Linked DNA regions of Homo sapiens: all the other regions are linked to region 3. The links are contacts of gene promoters, found by promoter capture Hi-C in blood cells and fetal thymus (Javierre and others, 2016). All regions are on one chromosome and are shown on one strand. Each heading gives the region's core, a stretch centred on a gene start or on the middle of the fragment in contact. The rest is flanking DNA. Distances are from core to core; before and after follow the strand shown. Region 1 overlaps STX7 (syntaxin 7). Region 2 overlaps STX7 (syntaxin 7). Region 3 holds the start of VNN1 (vanin 1). Region 4 has its middle 11 kb from the start of STX7. Region 5 has its middle 5.0 kb from the start of TAAR9.

Evidence for each region. The method cuts DNA at HindIII sites, captures the fragments that hold promoters and counts their contacts. A CHiCAGO score of 5 or more calls a contact.
Region 1: a fragment that was not itself captured here is called in contact with the fragment with the promoter of VNN1 in region 3 in 1 of 17 cell types (neutrophils); the score reaches 5.0 in neutrophils.
Region 2: a contact is called between a fragment that was not itself captured here and the fragment with the promoter of VNN1 in region 3, in 1 of 17 cell types (neutrophils). The highest score is 6.9, in neutrophils.
Region 4: a fragment that was not itself captured here is called in contact with the fragment with the promoter of VNN1 in region 3 in 1 of 17 cell types (neutrophils); the score reaches 5.1 in neutrophils.
Region 5: a fragment that was not itself captured here is called in contact with the fragment with the promoter of VNN1 in region 3 in 1 of 17 cell types (neutrophils); the score reaches 5.1 in neutrophils.

The regions. Positions count from the first base shown.
Region 1 is chr6:132,475,731-132,478,430 of GRCh38, forward strand. The region is part of intron 2 of STX7 (syntaxin 7); the gene reads right to left. Among named protein-coding and RNA genes, the nearest start is that of STX7, 36 kb to the right of the region's middle. The HindIII fragment of the contact is 3,236 bases long and covers 1-2,700 here.
Region 2 is chr6:132,506,684-132,509,383 of GRCh38, forward strand. All of the region lies in intron 1 of STX7 (syntaxin 7), which reads right to left. Among named protein-coding and RNA genes, the nearest start is that of STX7, 5.1 kb to the right of the region's middle. The HindIII fragment of the contact is 3,553 bases long and covers 1-2,700 here.
Region 3 is chr6:132,712,788-132,715,487 of GRCh38, forward strand. It overlaps VNN1 (vanin 1), which reads right to left and starts at 1,268. Exons shown (of 7, transcript NM_004666.3): 1 at 1,039-1,268. The coding sequence starts at 1,248. The HindIII fragment of the contact is 10,237 bases long and covers 1-2,700 here.
Region 4 is chr6:132,522,751-132,525,450 of GRCh38, forward strand. No RefSeq gene overlaps it. Among named protein-coding and RNA genes, the nearest start is that of STX7, 11 kb to the left of the region's middle. The HindIII fragment of the contact is 3,210 bases long and covers 1-2,700 here.
Region 5 is chr6:132,541,955-132,544,654 of GRCh38, forward strand. No RefSeq gene overlaps it. Among named protein-coding and RNA genes, the nearest start is that of TAAR9, 5.0 kb to the left of the region's middle. The HindIII fragment of the contact is 1,515 bases long and covers 680-2,194 here.

The DNA.
Region 1 (2,700 bases), core at 75-2,574, 240 kb before region 3:
ATATGTACAAGCAATTGGGCAGTTGAAAAGAGACAGAAAAACAAAGATGAAAATAGAAAATATTAACTGGAAAAAAGAATAACTAAATGGTTTACTTAAATCTAATTAGTAACAAAAATTTTCAAGAGGAAATTGTGTGAGAATGTTAACTTGTGAAAATGCACTTATGACCCAAAAATACTATCTTCTTCCTTATCCCATCAGGATATTATTAAGTAAATACAAGGGCACACAGACTTTAACACTACTAGCATAAAAATTGTGAGGAAATAAGTAACAATTACATATTTCATTAGAATATAATATAAATAAGTTATTGTTAATAAATGAGAGGAATAGAATTACAAAAAATCATTTTTCAATTATCCATGTAATAACTGATTTCAGCAAGGTCATCAAAAAATGCTAAAATCACAGGACATTCATACAACTTAAATTACCACCACACAGATGACATTAATTACAAAAGATATAACTTTATCATATATAAATCTGTTGTCTGAAAACAAATGACCAAATTTAGCAGTGAGAATGGAAAAAACTGACATTATGAACCTTGTGGCATGCTGCAGCGAGAAAGCCACAATATGATCTGAGGATTTTTCTTGCCAAAATATTTAACATGAATCTAATCACAAAAAGAAATTAGACCAGTCTAGACTGTGGGACAATCTACGAGATAACTTGCCTGGGCATTTAAAGACGTCAATGTCACAAAAGGGAAAAAAAAAGTTGACAAAGACAGAGGTGCTTTCTAAATTAAGGAATTAAAATACCCAAAAGACACTGTATGATTTTTGACTGGATTCTGAATCAGGAAAAAAGCAAGCACTATAAAGAAAATCATAGGGACAACTGGAGAAATTTGAATACAGAAAGTAAAAAACACATTAAACAAAAGTTGAAAAATGCCCACAACTGGCAAATCCAGGTGAAAGGTTCATTGTACTATATACTTATATATATATTTTGTGAGGTTTAGAAAAGATTTTAAAATAAAAAGTCCAGGGCTTAAAAGTCATGTTAAACTCACAATCCGGAAGTCTATGACTATTGCAATTTTTTTAAAAAAGGCTCTACACAAAAGGGGAGGACCTACAGTTTTATGTATGTGGGGACATAAATAAAATGTCATGGTACATAAATAAAACGTCAAGTAGAAATAAGCTGAAAATCCAAAGAACTCTTAACAATCTAACCCCCTCATTCTTTTTATTTAAATGAGTGGTTTACTTATATAGCTTAAATGCTTTAAAACTATTCATTATTTACATGCTCAAGGGAATGATAAAGTATTACAAAATGCAGGATAATTTTGGTCACCGCGAATGATGTAATAAATACTGCTTTTAAGTGAAAGCTGAAAAACAGAAACACTAGAGAAGAATCAAAGCATATAGCAACTCTTAGCATTTGGCTAATTTAATAGGAATTTATTTTTGCTTTTTGGGGGTTGATTTTTCCTTTCATAAGACAAACAAATTTTGTTTGCCGTGTTTAACTTATGGCTGCTTATAATTAGCTATATATTCCCTCTCAACCTCAACAGATTTTCTTGAACTGCCTTATAGGGGCTTTATTTTCTTAAGCGTATTGATAATACAAACTGTAGTATGGGCATCGATAGACTATTGGCAGGTATTTATCTCAACTCTAAAGTGTTATTGTTCTTTAGGAAAAAATCATAGCAAGTGAGAAAAAATAAATTATTTAATAAATGACACCAGGAAAACTGACTAACCATTTGGGCAGGGGAGAAAGAACCCTACCTCCCAGCATATAGCAAAATACATTTTTAATAAACCATTAATTTAAATAGTAAAATTGAAAATATTAAACTGCTCTAAGAAATATAAATGTTTTTATTATATGATCTTATACATGATCTTGGAGTAAGAGATATAAAATATTAGCTAAGCATGACACAAAACTAAAATCCACAGAGGAAAATATTGACAAATTTGACTACATAAAATAACTTGGTTAAATGTTATACAAAAAATGTGTACATATATCACAAGTATATATGTAAGTGTGTGTTCATATACACACAGGAGACAGTAACTGCAGGTTATGATGAGGAAAGAGGTTAAACTACAATGGTAATTATTTTTGGTAACAGAACAACAGCCCAGTAAAAAATGGACAAAGGTTATAATCTTGCAATTTACAAAAGGCAAATGTGTACATAACAAAACTTCAACTTCACTGATAATTAAACTTTTATGTTTCTGATTGGTAAAAATTATGAAAAGCAGTTGAGAATATAATTACAATCAAAGGCCTTAAAAACAAAAGGTAAAGACTACATAATATATAAGAAAGAGGGAGCAATAGTCAATAACTATAAATAATTTAGAAAATGTCAGACAATCCAGTAGAAAAATGGGCCAAGACACGTGTATATCTATATAACAAACATGCACGTTCTGTACATGTATCCCAGAACTTAAAGTATAATAAAAAAAAAGAAAAATGGGCCAAGAATAGGAACTTTAATATTCATGAATAAACTGAATAGCAAAAAAAGGACCGAAATGCATATCAATTTTGCAAAGTACAAACAAGTACACCACATGAATGCTATATAAAATTACTCAGCCAATTAAAGAATTGAGTAGAAATGGATTCTGACAGGCCCAATGGGAGCCTAGTTCCACCATGTGGTAATTTCCGGTTTCTGAACAGATATACTGAGCA
Region 2 (2,700 bases), core at 112-2,611, 210 kb before region 3:
GGTGAGACTGTAAAGTAGTACAACCTCTACAGAAAACAGCATGGCAAGTCATCAAAGAACTAAAAATAGAATTAATATTTGATCCAGTAACCTCGTTACTGGGTATCTACCCAAAAGAAAAAAAAAACCATTATACCAAAAAGATAATCTGCACTCATATGTCTATTGTAGCAATATTCACAAGAACAAAGATTTGGAATTAACCTAAGTGCCCATCAAGTGTCTATTAACATTCCTGAATGGATAAAGAAAATGTAGTGTATATAAATGCAATGGAATACTATTCAACCTTAAAAAAGACTGAAGTTATGTCTTTCACAGCAACACAGATGAACTGGAGGCCATTATCTTAAGTGAAATGACTCAGAAAAAAGTCAAATGCTGCATGTTCTCACTTGTAAGTGGAACCTAAATAATGTGTACACATGGACAGAGAGTGGAATAAGAAGACATTGGAGACTCAAAAGGATGGGAGGGTGAGGGATGAGAAATTACTTAATGCGTACAATGTACATTATTCAGGTGATGATTACACTAAAAGCCCAGACTTCACGCTATGCAATATAACCATGTAACAAAACTGCATGTGCACCCCTTAAATTTATATAAATAAAATGGCTTTATTGAGATATAATTTATTGAGATATGGCAATACAATACACCTACTTGAAGTACACAAGCCAATGGTTTTTAATATATTTACAACATTGTACAATCATCACTTTTAGAACATTTCTATTACGCTAAAAGGAAAGTTTGTAATCATTAGCAATCGCTCTCCATTTCTCCCCAACCTCACTGGCCAAAGGTGACTACTAATCTACTTTGTATCTTTATAGCTTTGCTATTCTGGACATTTCATAGGAATGGAATCATACAATGTGTTCTTCGAGACTAGCTTCTTTCTCTTAGTATGCTTCCAAAGTCCATCTGTGCTGTATCATATATCAGTCCTTCATTCCTTCATTATTGCCAAATAATATTCCTTCATTATTGCCAAATAATATTCCAAGGTATGGAGAAAGACAATTTTCTCTTGGTTCAATGACATCTTCCTTTCTCCTTTCCCTCTATCAAGTAGATCTCTGGAAAAACTGGCTTACAAGCCAAAACAAACACATTGAATGAAAAAATGTTCAGTTTGTTATTCATGTAATCTCTGGGGATGCTCCTCCATATACATGGTTCCATTTTAATCTATACCTGAATGAGTCGCACATCCATGTCTCCAGCTCGTACCCTTGGCTTTCTCTCGTGTCTACATGTCTGTGAAGCTACAAGAACTCAGCCATTGCCTGTGCGGCACACCATGGAAGTAGCAACTGGAAATTTCTACTTTGGGCAAGACACTTAGCATTTGGGCCCACTGCCAGAATCAAAATGAGATAATGCACATCCAGAGAACAAATGCTTTTCCACCCTACACAGAGGAAAGTTATGATCTGTTCTTGCAGCTGCAGGACCAGCATCAGCACAAGACCAAGAGAAACTCATCACCTGTCTCAAAACCATGCAAGCACACCTGAGGCCTACTCTCTCTCCCATAAAGAGTTCCATCAAGTCAAGGACAGTATTCTACAGCATTTTCCTTACCCTTAAAACTCACACCAGTGTAGCCCAAGTCTTCTCACTGTTTTCTTTCAAGGCCACCTTTTTTCCTCTCTGGAAAATCAATCACTTAGTCACAAACACAATCAATTTTCTTCATCCCTTTCCTCAAGCTACTAAATGTGAGAAAGTTCCTGCTGGTGAGACAATTGGCAAGTGGCTTCATTCACCCAAAGAGGTGCTACTTAGATTGACTGGAATTATGAGTTTTGTTTTACTTTTTCTTTGTTTGGCGTTGTTGTTGTTTGAGACAGGAGCACCCAGGCTGGAGTGCAGTGGTGTGATTACGACTCACTGCAGCCCTGACTTCCAGGCTCAGGCAATCCTCCCATCTCAGCATCCCGAGTAGCTGGGTCCACAGGCACCTGCCACCACATCCCACTAATTTTTTGATTTTTTTATAGAGATGGGGGTCTCACTTTGTTGCCCAGACTGGTCTTGAACTCCTGGGCTCATGCGATCCTCCAGTCTCAGCCTCCCAAAGTGCTGGGATTACAGGTTTGAGCCACTGTATCTAGCCAGGAATCATGTGTGAAGAATGAAAAGCAATTTGCAAAAGATAGAGAAGAAAGATGTGTAAAATAAAACAAAGTTAACAATGGCCAACACTCATCCAGGACTTACATTTCCTAAGCATTGTGCTTATGACTTTTAAATTTATTTTCTCAGTTAATTCTTATAAGCCTATCATGTGGGTATAATTGCTAATGTGATTTTTTTACATGAAGAAACTGAGGCATATCATTATGCCTCATTATCATTATAAGCAAAGGAGCAAATATTTGAAAATAACCACAGAGCCGACATTTTTTAAACACTAAGCCATACTGCTTCCTTGTATAACAAAATTGAGGGCAGGTGAACTCAGTTAGAAAAACCAAATTTGGGCTGGGCGCGGTGGCTCACGCCTGTAATCCCGGAACTTTGGAAGGCCAAGACAGGCAGATGACAAGGTCAAGAGATTGAGACCATCCTGGCCAACATGGTGAAATCTCATCTCTACTAAAAAAATTAACTGGGTGTGGTGGCATGCGCCTGTAGTGCCAGCTACTCAGGAGGCTGAGGCAGGACAATCGCTTGAACCCAGGAGGC
Region 3 (2,700 bases), core at 18-2,517:
TAAGGATGAAAAAGAACATCAGAACTCCTGATAACCTTTTAAATATTAGTATATATAAGAATATAGGGCAGTCACGGTAGCTCATGCCTGTAATCCCAGCACTTTGGGAGCCCAAGGCAGGTGGATCACCTGAGGTCAGGAGTTCAAGTACAGCGTGGGCAACATGGCAAAATCCCATCTCTACAAAAAATACAAAACTTAGCTGGGCACGGTGGCATGCATCTGTGGTCCCAGCTACTCTGGAGACTGTAGTGGGAGAATCACCTGAGCCCGGGAAGTCAAGGCTGCAGTGAGACGTGATCACACCACTATACTCCATCCTGGGTGACAGAGTGAGACCTTAACTCAACAACACAAAAGAATATATATTTATAGATATATGTAATACACATTTATCCATGACTTTTATCACACTTCATGTATTCCTGGTCTACACCTAATCGATCAATAGCTTTTAAAATAATATTTGTGTAAACCACAATTTATACTGTATGATTAACTTCAAACTGAAACCTTCACTAAACTTAAGGACTCACAATGCATTACATATACTTTTATCTTGTAATTAGAATGAAGTGTGAAGTATATAATGCATGCTGGCAAGGAATTGAAAACTTAAATTTGTTTTCAGATTATAAATTTATTCGAAAACCTGCAAAGCCTTAATAGCACATGAGTACATGAAGGCCACTAATACTCTGAAAATAGCACCTAGTCCCTGACCCATTTATCCTCCATCCTCCATCTGTACCAGAAAAGGGGAACAAAGATGTTGAATTTATGGCCAGTTCCTCAAAGGTCTGCTGCTTCTTGATAATGAGCAAATTGTTCTTTTCTTAACTTTGTTCTTACTTTTAGGGAAGTCCTTGCTCTAATTTTGAGAGGAAAGTAGAATTCTAACTGTAAAATAAAGGTTCTTGGCTACTCTGATACATATATCATCTAAAAGTGTAACTGACCCTGACAGTGGCCCTGTCTCCTAGGACCCCCTCCTTTCTCATAGAATCCAGTACACTGGAGAGATGGTAGAGATGGTACCTGATCTGCTGCTGATGTGATCGCTCCTTCCAAAATGTCCAGATTCCGATTCATTAATGCCAAAGCCTCCTCACGAGACACTGGTGTTAGGGTGGCATTGGGCAATATCGCTGCATGCTCATAAACAGCTGCAGTGAAAGTGTCCTGGCAGCTGGCTCTTGAGACATAGAAAAGCAAAATTGCCACGTAAGCTGGCAACTGAGTAGTCATGCTGAAGTCCAATGAGTGCTGAAAAACAGAGCATGTCCTGGTATTTATAGAAAGAAGACACGTGGTGTCCAGAACTTAGTACCTTAAACTACGGAAGTTAATTAAGAAAACGCTATGATTTCATAGCATTGTTACATAACAAAAGACCCTACCTTATTGCAGTAATTTGTGAAGATTAACTCAAGAACTCTATGTACATTAGTTCGCTAGGGCTGCCTAACAAAATACAATAAACTGGGTGGTGTAAAAAATAAAAAATTTATTGCTTTGCAGTTCTGGAGGGTGGGAGTCCCAGATGAAGGTGTCAGCAGAGTTGGTTCCTCCTGAGGGCGGTGAAGGAAAGATGTGTTCCAGGCCTCTCTCCTTGACCCATAGATGGCTGCCTTCTCCCTGTGTCTCTTCATATGCTATTCTCCCCATGTGTGTGCCTGTATCCAAGTTTTCCCTTTTTGTGAGGACACCACTCTAATCTTTAACACAGGGAAAGGGAAAATCCCAGCTCTAGCTTTTTTTGTCATCGTTGTTGTTTGTTTATTGTTGTTGTTGTTTGAGATGGAGTTTCACTCTTGTCACCCAGGCTAGAGTGCAGTGGCGAAATCTCGGCTCACTGCAACCTCCGCCTCTCGGGTTCATGTGATTCTCCTGCCTCAGCCTCCCAAGTAGCTGGGATTACAGGCGCCCGCCACCACGCCAGGCTAATTTTTTGTATTTTTAGTAGAGATAGGGTTTCGCCGTGTTGGGCAGGCTGGTCTCAAATTGCTGACCTCAGGTGATCCACCTGCTTTGTTTTTATGCCAAATAAGGGCAGAAGAAAAAAGCCAACTGAAGGTCATAAACCCAGGGGTACAGGCTCACTGAAAGACTGAGACTCAATCATAGGACCAATTCGATTTAGTGCCCACTGTACTCCAGTATAACTTCATCTTAACTAATTAGATCTGAAATGACCCCTTTTCCAAAAAAGTTACATTCTAAGATACTGACAGTTAGGACTTCAACATATAAATTTTTGGAATTCATATATTTTGGAATGTCAACACAAGACATTCAAATAATTTTAAAACTTTATTATTATTTTCATGTGAATATTTCAGCTCTACACTTTGATTTACTTTATTTTCCTCAAAATGGGGAAGCCAGGACAAAGAGGAATACAAAAGAGTTACTCATTTTCTATTGCTATATAACAAATTATCCCCAAATTCAGCAGCTTCAAAAAGCAAAAATACATCATCTCCCACTTTCTCTGGGTCAGGAATCCAGGGGCAGTTTAGCTGGTGCCTCTGGCCCAAGGTCTCTTTCACAAGGCTGCAGTCAAGCAGCTGCCAGGGCTAGCTATATCAAGGCTTGACTCCAGGAGGATTCACTTCCGAGCTCCAAGCTCCCTCATGTGGCTGACGGCAGGGATCAAGACCTCATTGGTTGTTGCCCAGAGACATGAGTTCCTAGTGA
Region 4 (2,700 bases), core at 48-2,547, 190 kb before region 3:
TGTTAAGTTTTGTTTGCTGGCCCAGAATATGATCAATGAGTATTTCATGTACACTACAAAAGAAAGAGTAATATTGCTGTTGGGTGGAATATTTTATAAGTGTAAATTAGTTCAAGTTAGTTGGTAGTGTTTGGGGGATTTTGCTGATATTCTCCCTACTTATTTCATCAATTACTAAGAGAGGAGGGTTGAAGTCTCCAACTAGAACTGTAAATTTCTCTACTTTTTCTTTCATATCTTTCAGGATTTTCCCTATGTGTTTTGAAGTTCTGTTGTTATATGTAAACACTTTTAGGATTGTTATGTCTTCCTGATGAATTGACCCCTTTATTATTATATAGTACCCCTCTTTATCTCTAATAATAATCCTTATCTTGACATCTATTTTGTTTGAAGTTATTGTAGCTACTTCAGATTTCATTTGATTCAGTTTGATATGATCTATCTTCATCTTTTTATGTTTGTCCTATCCATGCCTTTACATTACAAGTGAGTATTTTGTAGACAGCAGAGTTGTGTCTTGTTTTTTTATTCTGTTTTAAATTCTTTGTCTTTCAACTAGTATGTATAGATCATTTAAATTTAAGGTTATTGACAATTTGAATTAAAATCTACCATCTCTCTAGCTGTTGTCTGTTCTATTTTTATTTTTCCTCTTTTTCTTTCTTTCCTGGGTTTTATCAGGAATTTTTAAATGATTCTATTTTATCTTCTCTATTGACTTATTATGTGTATTCCTCCTAAAAATTATTTTTACCTCTTTAAAAAATTAACCTAAATCTACTTTCAAATGAGGTATTTGCAAGGACATTATAACAGTATATTCCCAAATCCTTCTTCTCATTTCTTCTGCTATTGTTATACAGAAAACAATATTGTATGGTTTTGTATGTATGTAGAGTATTGTTATACTCTCAAAGTCATTCATCTTTTAGAGTAACTTAAAATAAGAGAAAAAAATTTTATTTTACCTTTACATATTCCATTTCTAAATCTCTTCAGTTCTTTGTGTAGAGCCAGGTCTATGACCTGTATCATATTCCTTCTATCCAAATAATTGTTTTTCTACTTTGAGTGAAAAGGGCAAGAAAAGCAAGAACCTTAAAGAAGATGATTTGTATTTATGGCACAAACATTTACAATGTCTTATTAAAATCATAAACAAAGTGAAAGAGAATGACAAATGAAGAGAAAATGCCTGCAAGCTCTAATACAAATGTTTTACATCCTGTTATAAAGTATAAGATAGACAAACCTCCTGTGGTAGATGTTATTGACACCTCAGCCAGGTTCTCTTTGACTGCCTCAGTAACCAATCCATAGTTGCTGTGAGTAATCAGCTAAGCACCAATCACAGCTACCTTCTACTCTAGAAAATTGCCCTTGGCCCAAGGGAGCTGCCCCACCCAGAGTCAATATGCGCTGACTCCCCCCAACCTCAACCAATGACAAATTGACATCAGTCCCTGGACTTACGTTGGAATTAATTCTGTGGTGCAACTTGTGCTCCAGAGCTTCCCTGTGGGATCCAACCAAAAGTCTCCAGCCAAGACCACAGTCTTTCTCAGAACATGCTGTGGAACCAACTTCTCTTACTGCCCTTCTCCTGTGAGAATTCTTTCCAAATTCTCCATTCTGAGCCCAAGTTTCTGCTTCTAGAGAAACCAAACCAAGACACCACACTAGAAAACTTAGTAAAAGCTCATAATAGACAATTCACAGAAGTCTTAGTCCAAGTGTCTTGAAAAATAGAGCCTAAGGCAAAACTTTACTTACTAAGGTTTTACAGTAATCCTACAGTAGCAAGAGCAAAGTGTTACAACAAGTTTAGCCTAAAGCTGCCTCCTTATGTATTTTAAGTTCAGCCTAAAGGTTTCTCCGTACATCGTGAACTACAAACAAGTGGAGGTACAGATCATAGCCTACACTTGTACCAATCACTGAGTTTTGGCCAAATGTAGCCAACTGTTTGAACCGTGTTCAGTTAAGGCAAATGCGGGGCTGTCACCAATCCAGCTGTTTTTGTGCTTACTCCTATCTTCTGTATGTCACTTTCCTTTTTTCTGTCCATAAATCTTCTTCCTCTATGTGGCTGCACTGGAGTCTCAGAATTTACTCTAGTTTGGGAGGCTGCCCAGTTCATGAATCTTCTTGGCTCAATCAAATTCCTTTAAATTTAATTTGGCTGAAGTTTTTCTTTTATCAGATGGCATCAGAAATTGGATCTAAAGTAGAGCTTCTAACGACCCCCATGAGCACTGCGTGACCAAGGGAGGTACCCGCTGGACCCATTGTGTCTGTTGCTCTCTCAGAGCAGCTAGAGAATATGGTTAAGTTCTCGCTCGGATTCTGAGGCTCCACAGATTTGTGTTTTGAACACTCTGAGTTTCTTTGAGCAAATTTCTGATCCAAGCTGGATTTGGAAGTCGCGACAGACACTGGACTGGGTCCAAGATCAGAATGGATCCCGTAATTAACTGGCTTGGATCCAGTTAGAGGTCTCTCACATCTGACTCAGTCAGAAAGAAACTGGTAGTAAATGGCATAATTGCAGGGGGTGTAAAATTTGGCTTTTGGAAATTTGCAGGGATTTTTGTGTTCTACCCCTTTGTTTCATTTTTCTTGTGCGCTTAAATAGGAAAAGAAATGAGTGGCTAAGTTGGTCAAGGGAACCTGAGAAAGCCCAATATTTCAGGTAAA
Region 5 (2,700 bases), core at 187-2,686, 170 kb before region 3:
CATTTCAGAATTGCATTTGAAGAAAGCAGAAATACACTAGTGATATTAATTTGAAAATCAAATTATTTTGAAGTGAGCATTAAAAGCAACAGATATGCCCTTTGACACACAAAATGTATTCTGTTTACTATACCTAAATACTAAGTCTGTTACAGTACATCAGCAATAGTTTTTAGATTATTTTCTGCCTGTAGACAGACATATTCCTATACTTTATGAATCAAGTAATTTGATGTTTACTGACTATATTAATTTGTTATGTACTTTTCATTTGCTGCTAAGTCTTTGTTTACATTATTTCAATACCTAGCACAGTGCCTTACACTTATTAAGTTCCTAGAGATATTTTTTAAGCAAGAACAATCAATTCTTTTATATTTCTACCCATCAAATAATGATCGATTAATCTTTTATATTTAAAAACTTGGCCATTCTCTCCTTTATTTGGTTTGCTAAAATAGAAAATGCTTAATAATCAATGTTTAGGAAAAGTCCAACTTTAGTCTATTGAAAAGGTTTGTTTACCCCAATCACTAAAAGGTAATTTTTTATTTAATGAGAAAAAGTGCTAAAGCCTGTAAACTTGCAATATTGAGTTTCCTTACTTTACCTAACCTAAAGTGGAGATTCATGAAGTATATGATATCTCAGAGATTTACTGTGAGGATTGTAAATGTTAAGCTTTTTGAAAACATACACCTTCTTTTTCCTGCAAAGACTGCATACCATGCAGTATAAAGGTTCAGAGTGAGGTTGTAAAGCCACATTACTTGGGTTTAAATCTCATCTCCATCATCTGCAATCTTGGATAAGTCACTTACGCTTTGTAGATCATAGCTGCTTACCTATAAAATGGATATGATTATGGAACTTTCTTATTGAGGTTTTATGTATTAATGACCATTATGTAAAACACATCTGCAGATTTTGGAGACCAAAGAGCCAATAAGGAAACCACTATCACATAAAAATTGTTTGTGTTATGTTTTGTAAATGTTTTAACAGAAAGAAATTTATAAGGATTTTTTGAAATAGTTTCAAAACTTATATTTTTAAGATTTATTTTCTGAAATCATACAATCAAGACTGTTAACCAAAAAAGCAATGTTGGAAAAGTATTTTTTTTATTAGAAATTAGAGCTCAGGAAGAGCTCCAGAGTTCTGTTGAAAGAGCCACTTAACCGATTTGAACTCACAACATGAGCTCAAAAGTAAATTTTTCATAGAGAAGAAATTACTGTAAACTTTCCTAAGAGTTAGAGATAGTGAAAATCCAAATAAACAGTTTAAAGATTACATACACCTACACAAATAAAATGATATTTTTATAAACAGCTTGCATTGCCTTTGTATTTTGTGTGTTTTTAGAATTAGCATTTTGATTTTCTTTTCTTATTATTAATATTAATTATAGGAACTATTAATGAAGAAAAAAGCTCCAGAGAGATTATATGTTGTAAATGCTGGAGCTGGGATATTTAGATCCATGTCTGTCTATCATCAAAGCCAATGCTTTGCAAATACTATCATTGTGAATCAGTTGGAAAAAGCAACGACATTTCTTGGAAATGAAAAATTATAGACTATCTTCCCAGGTGTAACATAAGAGCTGACATTTATATTTTATTCTTATTTTATTCTGTTCAAACACACACACACACACACACACACACACACACACGTCTAATGCCAAAGGGCAAGTTTCATTATTTCCTAAGGGCAATACTAAGCTAAGCATCACAGATCACTTCAAAGATAAGAATATATAAGGTCCCTGTACTAATTCATCCTTGTTAAATTTATAAAACAGGCAAAATTCCCTGGGGAGTCCCCCAGCTACCCTGTCTCTACTTTCTCCCCTCACCTAGGAACACTCTGACATTTCAGGCTGTGTTCAAGCTGTTTGTGCTGCGTCCTTTCCCATCAGTAATATGAGCTGTTAAACAATAACTACTTGCCAAATGAATTAAATTCTTCATATGGGAGCATTAACAATAAAACATACCATTCTCAGAGGGGTTCCCTTTTAGGTTGGTAGTGGATAAAGGTACAAGAGAAATTTTAAGAGATGTTCAAAGAGTAACAGTTTGTAAAAAGAAGAAAGTAACAAGGGTGAAGTTTTAGGAAGGGAGGAGTTATTTAAATGGGACAACTTTCTGGTGTTGCTCAATTAAGACCAATTAGGCAAAACCAAAGCTTCATCTATTAGGGAGTTTGTTTTCCTCTCTTCTGTCATCTAAGGCTAAGGGAGTTTATAATGCATCTGCTGTCCGTTTTTGGCTTCCACCCACATACTGAGACAGCCCATCTGTAAACCAAGCTTGTGTTTTTCTCCTCTTTAGTTTCCTGAAGTGTGAAATGGAGGGGGTACTGCTGCAAAGGCGGTAGGTAATGGGCTCTGGGCTCATGTTGCTCACATGTTCCCACTGGCCTTGCTTGTGTTTGGTCCTACATGCATCATTTCCATTGGAGGATCCAACAAGACCTAACTCATAATAGGCAGTTACAGACACATGATAGCTTGATGTCACATGGTCAAGCGTTCCATCACTTCCTGGGCTCAGTAGCTCACCAAGAGCTATCTTTCAAAAGGTATTTATCTTCCTTACTCTAGACTCCCAGAGGACTGCACTGTGTTTCTCTCAGTGGAGCCTCCCATAAAAAATACACTGCCTCTTTTTCCACTACTAATACCTTCAT